3 separate regions of the Homo sapiens genome follow, and regions 1 and 3 are each linked to region 2. The links are contacts of gene promoters, found by promoter capture Hi-C in blood cells and fetal thymus (Javierre and others, 2016). All regions are on one chromosome and are shown on one strand. Each heading gives the region's core, a stretch centred on a gene start or on the middle of the fragment in contact. The rest is flanking DNA. Distances are from core to core; before and after follow the strand shown.

Region 1 (4,497 bases), core at 1,674-4,173, 1.6 Mb after region 2:
TATTGATTGATGTATTATGTCTCTGCAAAATGTGTAAAACCAAACTGCAGCCTGAACACCTTGGGCACACATTGTCAGGACCTCCTGAGGCTGTGTCACGGGGGCATTTTTAACCTTGGCAAAATAGATTTCTAAATTGACTGAGACCTAGTAGATACTTTTAGTTCACAAGCTCATGAACGCAGAAGAAATTGAGAGAATAAGAAAAAAGCTAGGTGTCATGGAAAGCACGAAATCAGTTCCAAAATCTGAACTCCTTCATATTTATTCAACATAGGGAAATGCTCTTCAACTTTGTGTGATTAGATTCCATTTGCGAATGATATATATTTCTAGTATTTGATTAAAATAACCCATTCTATGTAATTTTAGCCAACTTAAACTGCAAATAATAAATGATCAATTATATACATACATAAAACTTCCTAATATTTCACTTAGTATTGCTATTACTATGTTCTTGGGGCAGAAGCTCAGTCTGTCAGATACATTACGAGAGACTGGTGTCTCCATAATTGTGCTTAGGACTATGTTGCATGAATGGATAAACTGTTAAGCAGGAACCTAGGAGAGCTAGGGTGACAAAGTTCAAGTCCATTAAAACTAGCAAGACATATTCCTTACAGCTCATGCACGAGTCACCGTCATAAGATGTTTATGGTTAAGGAAAGCAGCTTATTGATACCTGCAAGGACAAATTTCTACAGAAACACAATGTCCAGATGACCCAATATCCCATGACAATGTATGCTTTTAAGATAGCAGGCTGGTCTCGGACTCCTGACCTCCGGTGATCCACCTGCCTCGGCCTTCCAAAGCGCTGTCAATACAGGCGTAAGCCATTGCGCCTGGCCAAGGATAGCTTTAAATCAACAAAGTAATAAGTTTTGTTACAGTGTCAGCCCACCCGCAGGTAGACATACCTTAGCTTTTACGTAGGCTTTGGCCGGGCGCGGTGGCTCACGCCTGTAATCCCAGCACTTTGGGAGGCCGAGGCAGGTGGATCACGAGGTCAGGAGATCGAGACAATCCTGGCTAACACGATGAAACCCCGTCTCTACTAAAAATACAAAAAATTAGCCGGGCGTAGTGGCGGGCGCCTGTAGTCCCAGCTACTTGGGAGGCAGAGGCAGGAGAATGGCGTGAACCCGGGAGGCGGAGCTTGCAGTGAGCCCAGATCGCGCCACTGCACTCCAGCCTGGGCAACAGAGCGAGACTCCATCTCAAAAAAAAAAAAAAAAAAAAAAAGCTTTTACGTAGGCCTCTATGTAAGAAAAACTTCAGGAGGAGGCGTTCCCCCTGCTTTCTGAGGACGCCCTACTGCGTAACTGGTAGCTTTCAATAAACTCTCTCGCCTCACTACACTCGGACCCTCGCCTTGAATTTTTTACTGCGCAAGATCCAAGAACTCTCACATGGGGTGTGGACTGTGACACCATTTTAGGCAACAAAACGACTGAACGTTATACAAAAACAGACAATTAATCCAATTCTCACAAAAGCAGGAATTTGGTAGTCCTCATCCAGCATGCCAAGCAAAGATCCACACTGTGGAGTCAGCGCTCACGAGAACAAAGGGGCTGACAGCTGGGAAACATGGGTGGATGAAGGGTGAGGCGCTCAGCAGCCGCCAACTGGGATTATTGGAAAGGGCAATAGGGTATTGAAAGGCGGAGGACACGGTCTAAAACGATACAAAAGCTGCAGAGCCACTGGGCCTGCGAGCTTCCCATGGGGAAGCCGGGACTCCCTGACAACTGCACAAACTCGCGTGGGGATTTCAACATCCCGAAGCACCCAGATTCCTTCTGGGCGGGTTCTGGACAGAGAGCGGGGACGGAACGGGAGGGGTAAAGGTCGCCGAGGGGGCCGGGCCAGAACAGGTGCTGGGTCGGGGAGAGAGGGTGGAGGCAGCTTTGGAAACCGGGCCTGGTTAGAGGGTGGGGGTGGGGCCTGGAATGGGAGTGGGCGGGGCAAGAGGGAGGAGGCTGCCTGGGGGCCGGGCTGGACAGCAGGAAAAGGCGGGACCCGAGGGTTAGCGTCATCTTGGGGGTGGGGTCTGGAAGGGGTTTTTTGTTCTGAAGGGCGGGGCCTGGAGGGGGCGGGTCCGGATTCTTTTCTCAGCTGGGCCGTGGATGTCGCCTGCTCTCATCCTCTTGCCCTCCAGGACTGGGTCCTCCGGGTTCTGATTGGTGGATTGTTTCTGATGTGCCATGATATTACCCCTAATATCACAGGGATGCTTCCTGCCCGTTGAAGTTACTATTTCGAACAATCGAAGGTAAAACAACATATTGTAGTGGGCCACCTGTACTGAACGTTGAATCGTTTTTCCTCTTAAGTTGAAAATAGTTTCAATGCAAAGAGCTTTTTTGGAGAAGGTAGAGTCGCGCGTCCTGCAGGCGGGGCAAGCTCCCCTCAGTCTGGGGCAGGGCGGTGGAGAGGGTCAGGGACCTCGGTAAAGGGGTGGAGTGGGGCGCTGGTTGCAGCGGGCACAGACAATTAGAACGGCTTATTAAACTAAGCAAGGTCCTGGGTTGGGTTGTTTGAGTGGATAATGGAAACTGAAGGGTGACAAGCAGAACTGCCTATTATACACAGGAGGTGAAGGACAATTTCATATTTCATGGAAATAAAGTCAGGGCCCGGAGCGGTGGTTCACACTTGTAATCCCAGCACTTTGAGTGGCCGAAGTGAGAGGATCGCTTGAGCCCAGGAGTTTGAGATCAGCCTGGGCAACATGATGAGACGTCGTCTCTAATAAAAATATAAAAAAATCAGCCAAGTGTGGTGGTGCGCGCCTGTGGTCCCAGCTGCTGGAGCGCTGAGGTGGGAGGATCGCTTGAGCCAGGGAGTTGGAGGCTGCAGTGAGCCCTGATCTCACCACCACACTCTAGCCTGGGTGTCAGAGCTAGACCCTGTCTCAAACAAACAAGCAAATAAATGAGAGGTGTAATTCCTCCTGTGAAAATAAAGAGATTTACTTTCCTTTCGTCTCTTTTCTTAGGAGACTTATTTAGAAAATTTGTAAATGGATTTTGTCTGTCTTCTGAGGTTTTTTGTTGTTTTGTTTTTGTTGTTTGTTTTTTAGATGGAGTTTTGCTTTTGTTGCTTAGGCTAGAGTGCAATTGCACGATCCCAGTTCACCGCAGCCTTCAACTTCCGGGTACAAGCCCGGTTTCGAACTCCTGACCTCAAGTGATTCGCCATCTTGGCCTCTGAAAGTGCTGGGATTACAGGTGTGAACCACCACACCTGGTCTGAAGTGGTATTTTTTAGAAACTAACTAAACCTTTTTTCAGCTTGATGACCCAGGGATGTATTTCTGAAGGACTTGGGAGCTCTCTTTGAAAGGCAAAATACAAGGGAGACAGTACCTGTATCTCAGTAGGAAATTAAATAATTCATACATCAAATAATTCCAATTTAAAGCTATGACCTTTAAATAATTATGAGCCTTTGAAGAGAGAGGCCATTTCTCTTACTGTCTCCTGTCTCTGAAGTAAAAGCTGAAAAACAACAGGAATGAAGTCAGTGGCAAGACCAGCTGGTGCCACTGATGACCAGGCCTGAGGTTAAAATATTAACCCCCAACTCTAACCACATGTGCTCTCAATCTATCATGACCCTTTCACGTGGAACCCCTTACAGTTGTAAGCCCTTAAAAGGACCAGGAACTCCTTCTTGGGGGAGCTCGGTTCTTGAGATGCCAGTCAGCCGATGCTCCCGGCCAAATAAAGCAACTTCCTTCTTTAACCCTGTGTGTGAGGGCTTTTGTCTGTGGCTCGTCCTGCTACACCTTGAGAGAAATGTGCTCATTCAGCTTGAGTCCAGTGGAATGCAGGCGTAACTTCTACGAGTTTTCCTTGCCACGTGTGGTGGCCCACACCTGTAATCTCACCACTTTGGGAGGTCGAGGTGGACAGATCACTTGAGGTCAAGAGTTTGAAACTAGCATGGCCAACATGGTGAAACCACCTCTCTACTAAAAATACAAAACAAAAGGCCAGGCGTGGTGGCTCACACCTGTAATCCCAGAAAATTGGAAGGCTTGGGCGGGTGGATCACAAGGTCAGGAGTTTGAGACCAGCCTGCCCTACATGGTGAAACCCCATCTCTACTAAAAATACAAAAGTTAGCTGGGCTCCTAGCTACTCGAGAGCCTGAGCCAGGAGAATCGCTTGAACCCGGGAGGCAGAGGTTGCAGTAAGCAGCTGAGATCGTGTCATTGCTCTCCAGCTTAGGCAACAGAGCGAGACTCTGTCTCAAACAAAAAAAAACAATGGTGGCATGCACCTGTAATCCCAGCTACTTGGGAGGCTGAGGCAAGAGAACTGCTTGAATCTGAGAGGTAGAGGTTGCAGTGAGCCGAGGTCGCCCCACTGCACTCCAGCCTATGCAAGTCTTCCTCTTATTTACAGGAAAAGTTTTCATGTAAATAATTAGAAAGACTAAGCAACCCCAGAGATAAGACCTCCTGAGATCATTGTCCCTTTT
Region 2 (4,571 bases), core at 1,567-4,066:
GTTGTTTATAAATTATCCAGTCTCAGCTATCTTGTTATAGCAGCACCAACAAGGCTAAGACAGCATCCTATAATTTAATTCAGTCTGAGACTGTGTATCTAGATATAGTGTCAGACACCACAGATTAAGGGCTCAGTTCAAGCCTGCCCCCAACTTCAGACGCAAGTTGCAAGCAGCAGGTTGTCACCTGTACCTCTGATGGACCAGCTATAAATCAGGATTCACACGGCCTCCTCCTCAGGTTCGATTAATTTGCTGGATGGCTCACAGAACTCAGGAAAGCACTTAACATTTACTGGTTTATTTCAACTCTTTTCCTGTCTAGAAAAACGAAGTGCAGCTCACTGCCAGCGCTTATTTCATTTTACATAAACATGCTCTTTGAGGCTGCAGTAAATCTGATTTTCAATGTGAAAATAAAATATAAAAGCTGTTCTAGGAGTTATTTCTAAACAGAACTAACATCAGAATCATCTGAATCATCAGAATTCTCGATTTGGAATCATCAGAATTCTCGATTTGGTAAAAATCGGATCCATCCAGTGAGTCTTCAGCCAAGAACTGTTTGAGAATGATGTTAACATCACATGTAGGAATGCTACGTTTTCTAGGATTTGACATTTTCAGTGATCGAGAACTACTACATTTTGTAAATGGAAATACCACTACTAAAAACAGAATGCTATAAGTAGAATGATGTCTTTTGTTTCCCAAGGCGACCTACTAGAGCGATGTGAAAATAATAAAAGTGAGATCGTTCATGGCAAAGTTATCTCGGGGTAAATGCTCCAGCTGCAAGCACCAAAGGTGAGTATTCTCAGGGCAAATGGGAAAAGGAATAAAGGATATTACGAAGGATACAGATGAAGAGGCAGATGGAAGGGATAGCACAGAGCAAGGTTTGTAGCAAGGGGCGTGGGACTTCCATGCCCTCCACGGAAGCTTATTAGAGACTCAGTTCACCACCCTCAGGCACCTCCACATGCTCAAGAATCTGTAAGTTCCCCAGAAGTTCACCAGTCCTTTTGAGTTTTTACGCTGGTTTCATTATGTGGGCATACTTGATTAAAACACTAACCACTGGTGATCAACTCAACCTTCAACTTCCCTGTTGCCAGGCAGAGCTAAAATTTCCAACCCTCAAATGACATGGTTAGTTGCCCTGGCAACCAGCCTCCCCCGTCCTAAGGCCAGCCAGAAGCCCCCAGTCACCAGCCATCTCAATGCCACACAAAAAGGCACTGTTTACTGAAGAGGTTCCAAGGCTTTTGGGAGACATGTGCCAGGAAACAGGACAAAGATCGATTATACATTTCTTATAAATCGTAACAATCATAGCTAGGCGCGATGGCTCATGCCTATAATCCCAGCACTTTGGAAGGCCGAGGCGGGCAGATCACCTGAGGTCAGGAGTTCAAGACCAGCCTGGCCAACGTGGTGAAAGCCTGTCTCTACTAAAAATACAAAAATTAGCCGGGCGTGGTGGCGGGCGCCTGTAATCCCAGCCACTCGGGAGGCTGAGGCAGGACAGTCGCTAGAACCCAGGAGGCGGAGGTTGCAGTGAGCTGAGATCGCACCACTGCACTCCAGACTGGACAACAGAGCTAGATTCCGTCTGGGGGATAGGAGGAAACTTTGATCCCCAAATGCTCAAGGAGACTGATGCTTAAGCAAACTAAATATTGCCTGAGAACGACTCCATACTTCTATATTTGAGTCCTTGTGGATAAACTGCAACCTAGCTTAACAGACAAAATTGAAAACCGAACTTAATCGTATGCACCTGTAACAATAGCTGAGTGGTGGCCAGTCCCAGCGGCCATACTCATAGACTGCTGAATGTTCCAACTGCGTTCAAATAAGGCAAACGCCGAATGGTAACCAATCTCACTGTTTCTGGACCTCGCTTCCGATTCCTGTATGTCACTTTACCTTTTTTGTCTATAAATTTGTTCTGACCACGAGGCACCCCTGGAGTCTCTGTTAATCTGCTGTGATTCTGGGGGCTGCCCAATTCGCGAATCGTTCATTGCTCAAGGAAACTCCTGTAAATTTAATTCGGCTTCAATTTTTCTTTTATCACTGATTTGAGTAATAATAAAACTCCGGTCTCCCCGCACAGCCGGCTCTGCATGAATTGCTCTTTCTCCATTGCAATTTCCCTGTCTTAACAAGTCGGCTCTGTCTAGGCAGCCGGCAAGGGTGGGCGGTTATAGTTTCACAACTCAACCCCAGCCAGGGGCCTGGGCTTGTAAAATACCAGATTTTACAAGCCTCTGAGCCCCACATGCCTGGGCCTCCCCGAAACACTTAACACACATCCCCGATTCACCCCAAAACCTACACCACACACCCTCGTACGCTGCCCAGCACCCCGGCTTCATCACCGACTTTAAACTGCAGCATTTGGAGTGATAATAATGGCGTCGGTGATAAAGCCGGCGTGCTGGGCAGCGTCCCCCTAGAGTTCTCCATCCAGTGATCCAGAGGCCTACTAACAGAGTGACCCTCAGAGACCCCAAACTCTGACGCCGAGTCTCAGTCGCTGAACTCGACAGACCTTTAACGCCCGACCACAAGAACTCTCCCACGCCGGACCGCAAAGGCACCCCAACCCAAAGGCTCCACCGCCCAGGCCGCCAGCTCTCCCCACAGGCTCCTCAGAAGCTCCCTACCCCTTTAACCTACTCCACGGAGAGACCCAAACACTCACCTGATTTTCTTCTGGCTACACCTAAATTCCCTGAATGCTTCCTTTCCTGGCCCTTAAACCCCGGCACTGGCCTATGGCGGCGGACGAGGGCGCGAGTCAATTCTGCCGCGCTAGGACGATGGGACATGGGCTTCTCTTCGAGGAGGTAACATGTCCGCGCCCTGAGCCACGGCTCTCTGGGCGCGGCCATCTTGGTAGATCTGCCGTACAGAAGGGAAACAGTTGTTCTTGTGTCATTAAACCGGGATGACTCTCCTGAAAGCAAAAATTTGAGGCGCAGGAGCATTTTCTAGAGTTTATCTGAACAAACAGCAATTCATGAATTAGGAAGCATCAAACCAAAAGAAGTCTCGCGCTTCTATGCTTAAAGCATTAGACACAAGTATTCACAGGGTGAGTGAAGGAGTAAAACAAAGAAATTATTTGATTAGTTACAATTATAAAAATGCATTTTTTTAAATTTGCCTTGGAAAGTCCCTAATGACATAATAGCATGTGAGTTGCCTACTTTTGATCGGTTGAGATTGAGTTTTGTCCTTCCCTAACACAAGCATTTACCAGAAATGACTCAAGTGAATTGTTGCTTATGTTTGCAGGTTAAGCAAGGTTAAGGCTGTTTTTAAGGCCTACTGGGTTTTGTTTGCTCAGGAGTTTTTGAATTCTGGTCTGCATTTTAATTTTGCTTTGACACAGGAGACAGTGAAATGGCACTGATGTGTTCCCTCTCCTGACACCTCAACCCCTGCACTGTGAGGTTGGAGCACTAACAACAGTGCACTGTGGGGAAAAGAAAGAGAGATCAGACTGTTACTGTGTCTATGTAGAAAGAAGTAGACATAAGAGACTCCATTTTGTTCCGTACTAAGAAAAATTCTTCTGCCTTGAGATGCTGTTAATCTGTAACCCTACCCCCAACCCTGTTCTCACAGAGACGTGTGCTGTGTTGACTCAAGGTTTAATGGATTTAGGGCTATGCAGGATGTGCTTTGTTAAACAAATGCTTGAAGGCAGTATGCTTGTTAAAAGTCATCACCACTCTCTAATCTCAAGTACCCAGGGACACAATACACTGCGGAAGGCCACAGGGACCTCTGCCCCAGAAAGCCAGGTATTATCCAAGGTTTCTCCCCATGTGATAGTCTGAAATATGGCCTCGTGGGAAGGGAAAGACCTGACCATCCCTCAGCCCGACACCCGTAAAGGGTCTGTGCTGAGGAGGATTAGTATAAGAGGAAGGAAGGCCTCTTGCAGTTGAGACAAGAGGAAGGCATCTGTCTCCTGCTCGTCCCTGGGCAATGGAATGTCTCGGTATAAAACCCGATTGTATGTTCCATCTACTGAGATAGGAGAAAATCGCCTTAGGGCTGGAGGTGAGACAAGCTGGCGGCAATACTGCTCTTTAATGCACCGAGACGTTTATGTATGTGCATATCAAAGCACAGCACCTTCTTCTTAAGCTTGTTTATGACACAGAGACATTTGTTCACATGTTTTCCTGCTGACACTCTCCCCACTATTATCCTATTGTCCTGCCACATCCCCCTCTCCGAGATGGTAGAGATAATGATCAATAAATACTGAGGGACTCAGAGACCGGTGCCGGCGCGGGTCCTCTGTATGCTGAGCACCGGTCCCCTGGACCCACTTTTCTTTCTCTATACTTTGTCTCTGTATCTCTTCTTTTCTCAGTCTCTCGTCCCACCTGACGAGAAACACCCACAGATGTGGAGAGGCAGGCCACCCCTTCACTGCACAAACCACACAGATATTCAGAGGCTCAAATGCAACCAAGGCTGTTGCGGGAAGTCAGGGACCCCAAACGGAGGGACCGGCTGAAGCCATGGCAGAAAAACATGGA
Region 3 (4,946 bases), core at 1,042-3,541, 1.3 Mb after region 2:
TTCCCTCTAGCCTGAATTTTTGTATGACAAAATGCTTGCATATAAGGATGAATTTCCATTGAGAAATTTAAAATAATTTACCACCTTCACTTGTAATGCTTCTCTCCAATATGAATGGTGTATCCTGAAGTCAGAACATTGCTTAAAGGACTTGCCACATTTGTATGGTTTCCATCCTGAATGTCTTCTGTTATAACCATAATAGGGTAAATATTTTTATAAAGCTGTTCACATTCATTATATTTGTAAGGCTTCTCTACAGTAAGAATTCTATGATGTTCCACAAGGCTTGAACTTTGGATAAGCCTTGCCATACATGTTATCTTTGTGTGGTTTATCTCAAAGATGTATATTCTGGTATCAAGTGAGACATAAGCCATAGCTAAAGGCTTTACCACATTTTCGTTTTATATGGTTTCTTTTCACAATGGAGCCCCTGATGCTAGGTACAGCTTGAATACTTAATTTTTGTCTCATTATATTTGATATGTTTTTCTCTATTATAACTTTTTTGATGATCTCCAAGGTTTGAACTTTGGAATAAAGCATTACCATGTATATTATGTTTACAATGTTTCTTTTCAATGTGTATTTTCTGGTGTCTAGTGAGGTTTGCAAATTGGGTAAAAGCTTTGCCACATTCAGTACATTTGTAAGGTTTCTCTCCAGTATGGATTTTCTTATGCTGAGTAAGATTTGAACGTTCAGTAAAGGCTTTGCCACATTCAGTACATTTGTAAGGTTTCTCTCCAGTATGAGTTCTCTGATGACCCCAAAGGTGTGAACGTTTGATAAAAGCTTTATCACATTTATTACATTTGTAAGGTTTTTCTCCAGTGTGAATTCTCTGATGTTCCACAAGACTTGAACTTTGGATAAAAGCCCTGCCACACACATTACATTTGTGTGGTTTCTCTCCAGGATGTATATTCTGATGCCTAGTGAGATGTGAGCACTGCTTAAAAGCTTTGCCACACTCATTACATATGTAAGGCTTCTCTCCAGTATGGATTCTCTTATGTTGGGTAAGGCTTGAACGTTCAGCAAAGGCTTTGTCACATTCATTACATTTGTAAGGTTTCTCTCCAGTATGAATTCTTTCATGACCCCAAAGGTGTGAACGCTGGATAAATGCCTTACCACATTCATTACATTTGTAAGGTTTCTCTCCAGTATGCATCCTCTGATGACTTGCAAGATTTGAATTTTGACTACAGACCTTGCCACATATATTACATTGATATGGTTTCTCTCCTGTATGGACTCTCTGATGCCTAGTGAGGTTCGAACACTGGTTAAAGGCTTTGCCACACTCGTTACATTTGTAAGGTCTCTGTCCAGAGTGAATTCTCTGATGATTAGTGAGGTTCGAACTTTTGCTAAAAGCCTTTCCACAGTCATTACACTTGTATGATTTTTCTCTAATGTGTGTTCTCCCATACTGTGTATGTAATAAAGGGTATTTCAAAATCTTCCTATATTTATTACAAATGTTTTTGACACAAGGAGGAAGTGGTGAAACTGAGGAACTATTGATAGACTTCTCAACTGGATTACATTCATACATTTTCTCCCCAGTTTGAAATCTCTGTAGTTCAGCCAGCTGTGCCTGTAAGCTTAATCCAATTTTATTTTCAAAACACTTCACGTATTTGTTTCCGGCATACCTTATGTTATTTTTCAGTTTTAACAAATTCCTTATAAATGGCTTGTCATGGATGAAATACTGGTGTGCACTATCTCTTATAGAAACACTCTGCTTTAAAGAGAAATGTATTGAGGATTTATTATGTTGTTGATCTTTTCTGTGAGTGAGATTTTTGTTACAGGTCAAAGGCATTCCTTTGTAATTTTTTACATCATAGTCCCACAGGCTGTCAAACTTAGGCATATTTTCCCAGACTTCCTTGAGGTCAAAATTGTTGATGCCATGGCTTTCCTTTCTTTCTAATATCACCAGATGGTATAATTCCTCTTTATTATTTTCCTTTGGTGATAATCCCTTGCTTGTAAATCCAACAGAAATATCTGAAAGATATTAAAAAAACCACAGGCTTTCCATCAAATAGAGTTGCAAGGTAAATATTTTATTAAAATACATATTACAAGAAAGCTAAGATTTACAATGAACAGAGTTATGAAGCTTCTCAACTGTCTTTAAACGTTTAACAACACAAAGGGACTAGCTGTCCTCAATAAAGTAACACAGTAACAAAACATGTAACAAATTATTTTAAGCACAGTTTAAAACACCCTATAGCTAAAACACTCATACTATGTAAATCCACATAAACTCTGAAAGAAGAGGTATTTTTCCACCACCACTCCAAGGAACACGTAAATTGGCATAGCTATATGGTAGTCTCATATTTGAAGATAAACAAATAGTAATGCATTATTTAGTACATAATTATTACACACAAAAGGTAAGGCACAGCTCAAGCTTATCTAATAAAAAATATTTAAAAATGACAATTCATAATTGCAAACAAAACACTGAAAGAAAAAATTCGGAAGAATTTAATAAAATTTTGAATATTTACAAATTGCAAATGTGAGTACTTGTTATAAAACTACTTACACCCATGTAGAATGTGCATTTTGCAGCATTAACAATTTGTGCATGGTGGTTCTATTGCATAATATATACTGAAAAACCATCATCTGTAAATCATTACAAAAATAAATAAAACACTTTAGTAACCTGTGAAAATCTAACAGGCAAGTTAATGAACAACCACAATTACACAAAATTGTCAGTGAAATTCTAAAGAATTACTGCTTATGAACTACAGAAAAAACAGAAGGGACACACAATAGGAAAAATAATATGTTGAGAATCACTAAATTTTGAAATATCAGCTTCAGGTAAATGCACATTACTATAAAGATGAAGAATTAGGAGGGGAGTCTGAAATAATTTCATGCCTGCAGTTATATGACAGCAGTATATAGAGAAACTCCCTGACTAGGAAATGTCATCTAGTTTTCCAGTTCTATGGCCAAAAAATACATATAATGAAAGCTGTGTGCTTTAACATTTTATTATGTAGAGTCAGAGAAATGTTGATATGAAAAAAAAAATTACAAAAAAGAAAATATGTAAGATATAATGAAGGCAAAGGTCAATCTCATAAGAAACATGACAGACACTTGACATATCTTATTCATAAAGGTAACTTTTCAAAGCATACTAAATGCTATGCAAGTTACTAAGGTCTCTAACAGCACTAATTGATGTAAATCCTCTTGAGGTAAATTATCGCACCTTTTCATACCAAAACAAAGGGCTGAAGAGGTTTACATATCTATCCCTAACTCACAGAGAAAGCACATCTGAAAGCCAGAATCTGAACCTGTGTGTGCGGGCTAAGATGCCATGTTCACAGCATTAAGCACCACTGGCCACCCAGGGCAGCACGGATTATAAATCACAGCAAATACGAGGAGTGTAGGAAGAAATGTTTCAAGGCAGATTATGGGACCTGAGCTGTGTCACCTATAGTGTGACAGCACCACTGCTCTCAGATAGCATTTAAGTCACCTTATCTTGCACAAGTTGTTTAGACAGTGACCAGATCATGTTGCTGTCCTGAGTAAGCTGTCCTGTGTATAAGCAGGAGTCATTCTTTACACAGTGTGTGCAATGAAGGGATGTTATTCTGTGCTAAAAAGAAATGAGCTGTCAAGCTATAAAAAGACATGGAAGAAATTTATTTTATTTATCTATTTTTTGAGATGGAGTCTCGCTCTGTTGCCCAGGCTGGAGTGCAGTGGCATGGTCTCGGCTCATCACAACCTCTGCCTCCCAGGTTCACGCCATTCTCCTGCCTCAGCCTCCTGAGTAGCTGGAACTACAGGTGCCCGCCACCACGCCCGGCTTATTTTCTGTATTTTTAGTAGAGACGGGGTTTCACCATGTTAGCCAGGATCGTCTTGATCTCCTGACCTCGTGATCCGCCGGCCTCGGCCTCCCAAAGTGCTGGGATTACAGGCGTGAGCCACCACGCCCAGCCCTAGAAATTGAAATGCATATTATTAAGTGAAAGAAGCCAATCTGAAAAGGCCATATACTATATGGTTCCAACTATATGACATTCTGAAAAAGGCAAATCTATGGAGACAGTAAAGAGATCAGTGGTTGCCAGGTGCTGGGGGGAGGGAGAGATGAACAGACAGAGCACAGATTTTTTAGGGCAGTGTAATTATTCTGTAAGATACTATTATGGAGGATATATGTCTATTATATATTTGCCCAAACCCAAAGCATATACATAGAGTGAACCCCAACATCGACTATGGACTTTGGGTGATAATGATGTGTCAATGTAGGTTTATCAATTTTAACAAATGTACCACTGTGATGGGGGATGGTGATAATGGGGGAAGACGCTGTGCACGTGTGGGGGAACAGAGTATACAGGAAATCTAGTTTGCTGTGAACATAAAATTGCTAAAAAATAGAAAGTCTATTTTTAAAAAGTATAAGCTAAGAGTTGATATAAAGTTACAGGAAACAGAAGTAAAAGGAATAACTAATACTATCCTTTAACAAAGTTTTGGAGGTTATATATGTTTTGAGGAAACTAATACTCAGACATAAATACTCAAGGAAGAAATCTTCTGGTAAAACATATAAAACATCATGAAAGTATATGAAGCAGAAAAAAATATATATAATAAAACAATATTCATTCATCTCATGGCCCCACACACTGTAGATATAAAACAAAAAACACTAAGAGTATCATGAAAACATGTAACTGCTGATTAAATACATACAAGTTCATTTATACCAATGACATTGGCAAAATGAAAGTGTCAGTGGCTTAACCAAATTATACTGAACTTTAAAAATGTATGCCTAATTCAACTTTGTAAGCTCCCTCAATAAAGGCATAAAAATCATACTGAAGAAAAATGTACAACTGCACGTATGGGATGAA

The links. The method cuts DNA at HindIII sites, captures the fragments that hold promoters and counts their contacts. A CHiCAGO score of 5 or more calls a contact.
Region 1: a contact is called between a fragment that was not itself captured here and the fragment with the promoter of ZNF649 in region 2, in 1 of 17 cell types (non-activated CD4 T cells). The highest score is 6.4, in non-activated CD4 T cells.
Region 3: a contact is called between a fragment that was not itself captured here and the fragment with the promoter of ZNF649 in region 2, in 1 of 17 cell types (fetal thymus). The highest score is 5.1, in fetal thymus.

The regions. Positions count from the first base shown.
Region 1 is chr19:53,461,449-53,465,945 of GRCh38, forward strand. It overlaps the pseudogene VN1R102P. Among named protein-coding and RNA genes, the nearest start is that of ZNF813, 4.0 kb to the right of the region's middle. The HindIII fragment of the contact is 3,353 bases long and covers 1,248-4,497 here.
Region 2 is chr19:51,902,201-51,906,771 of GRCh38, forward strand. ZNF649 (zinc finger protein 649) reads right to left here and starts at 2,817. Exons shown (of 5, transcript NM_023074.4): 1 at 2,714-2,817. RefSeq lists enhancers at 950-1,495, 2,586-3,130, 2,849-2,968, 3,459-4,083. The HindIII fragment of the contact is 3,228 bases long and covers 941-4,168 here.
Region 3 is chr19:53,236,530-53,241,475 of GRCh38, forward strand. It overlaps ZNF677 (zinc finger protein 677), which reads right to left. Exons shown (of 5, transcript NM_182609.4): 5 at 1-2,028. The coding sequence ends at 443. Among named protein-coding and RNA genes, the nearest start is that of ZNF677, 16 kb to the right of the region's middle. The HindIII fragment of the contact is 300 bases long and covers 2,142-2,441 here.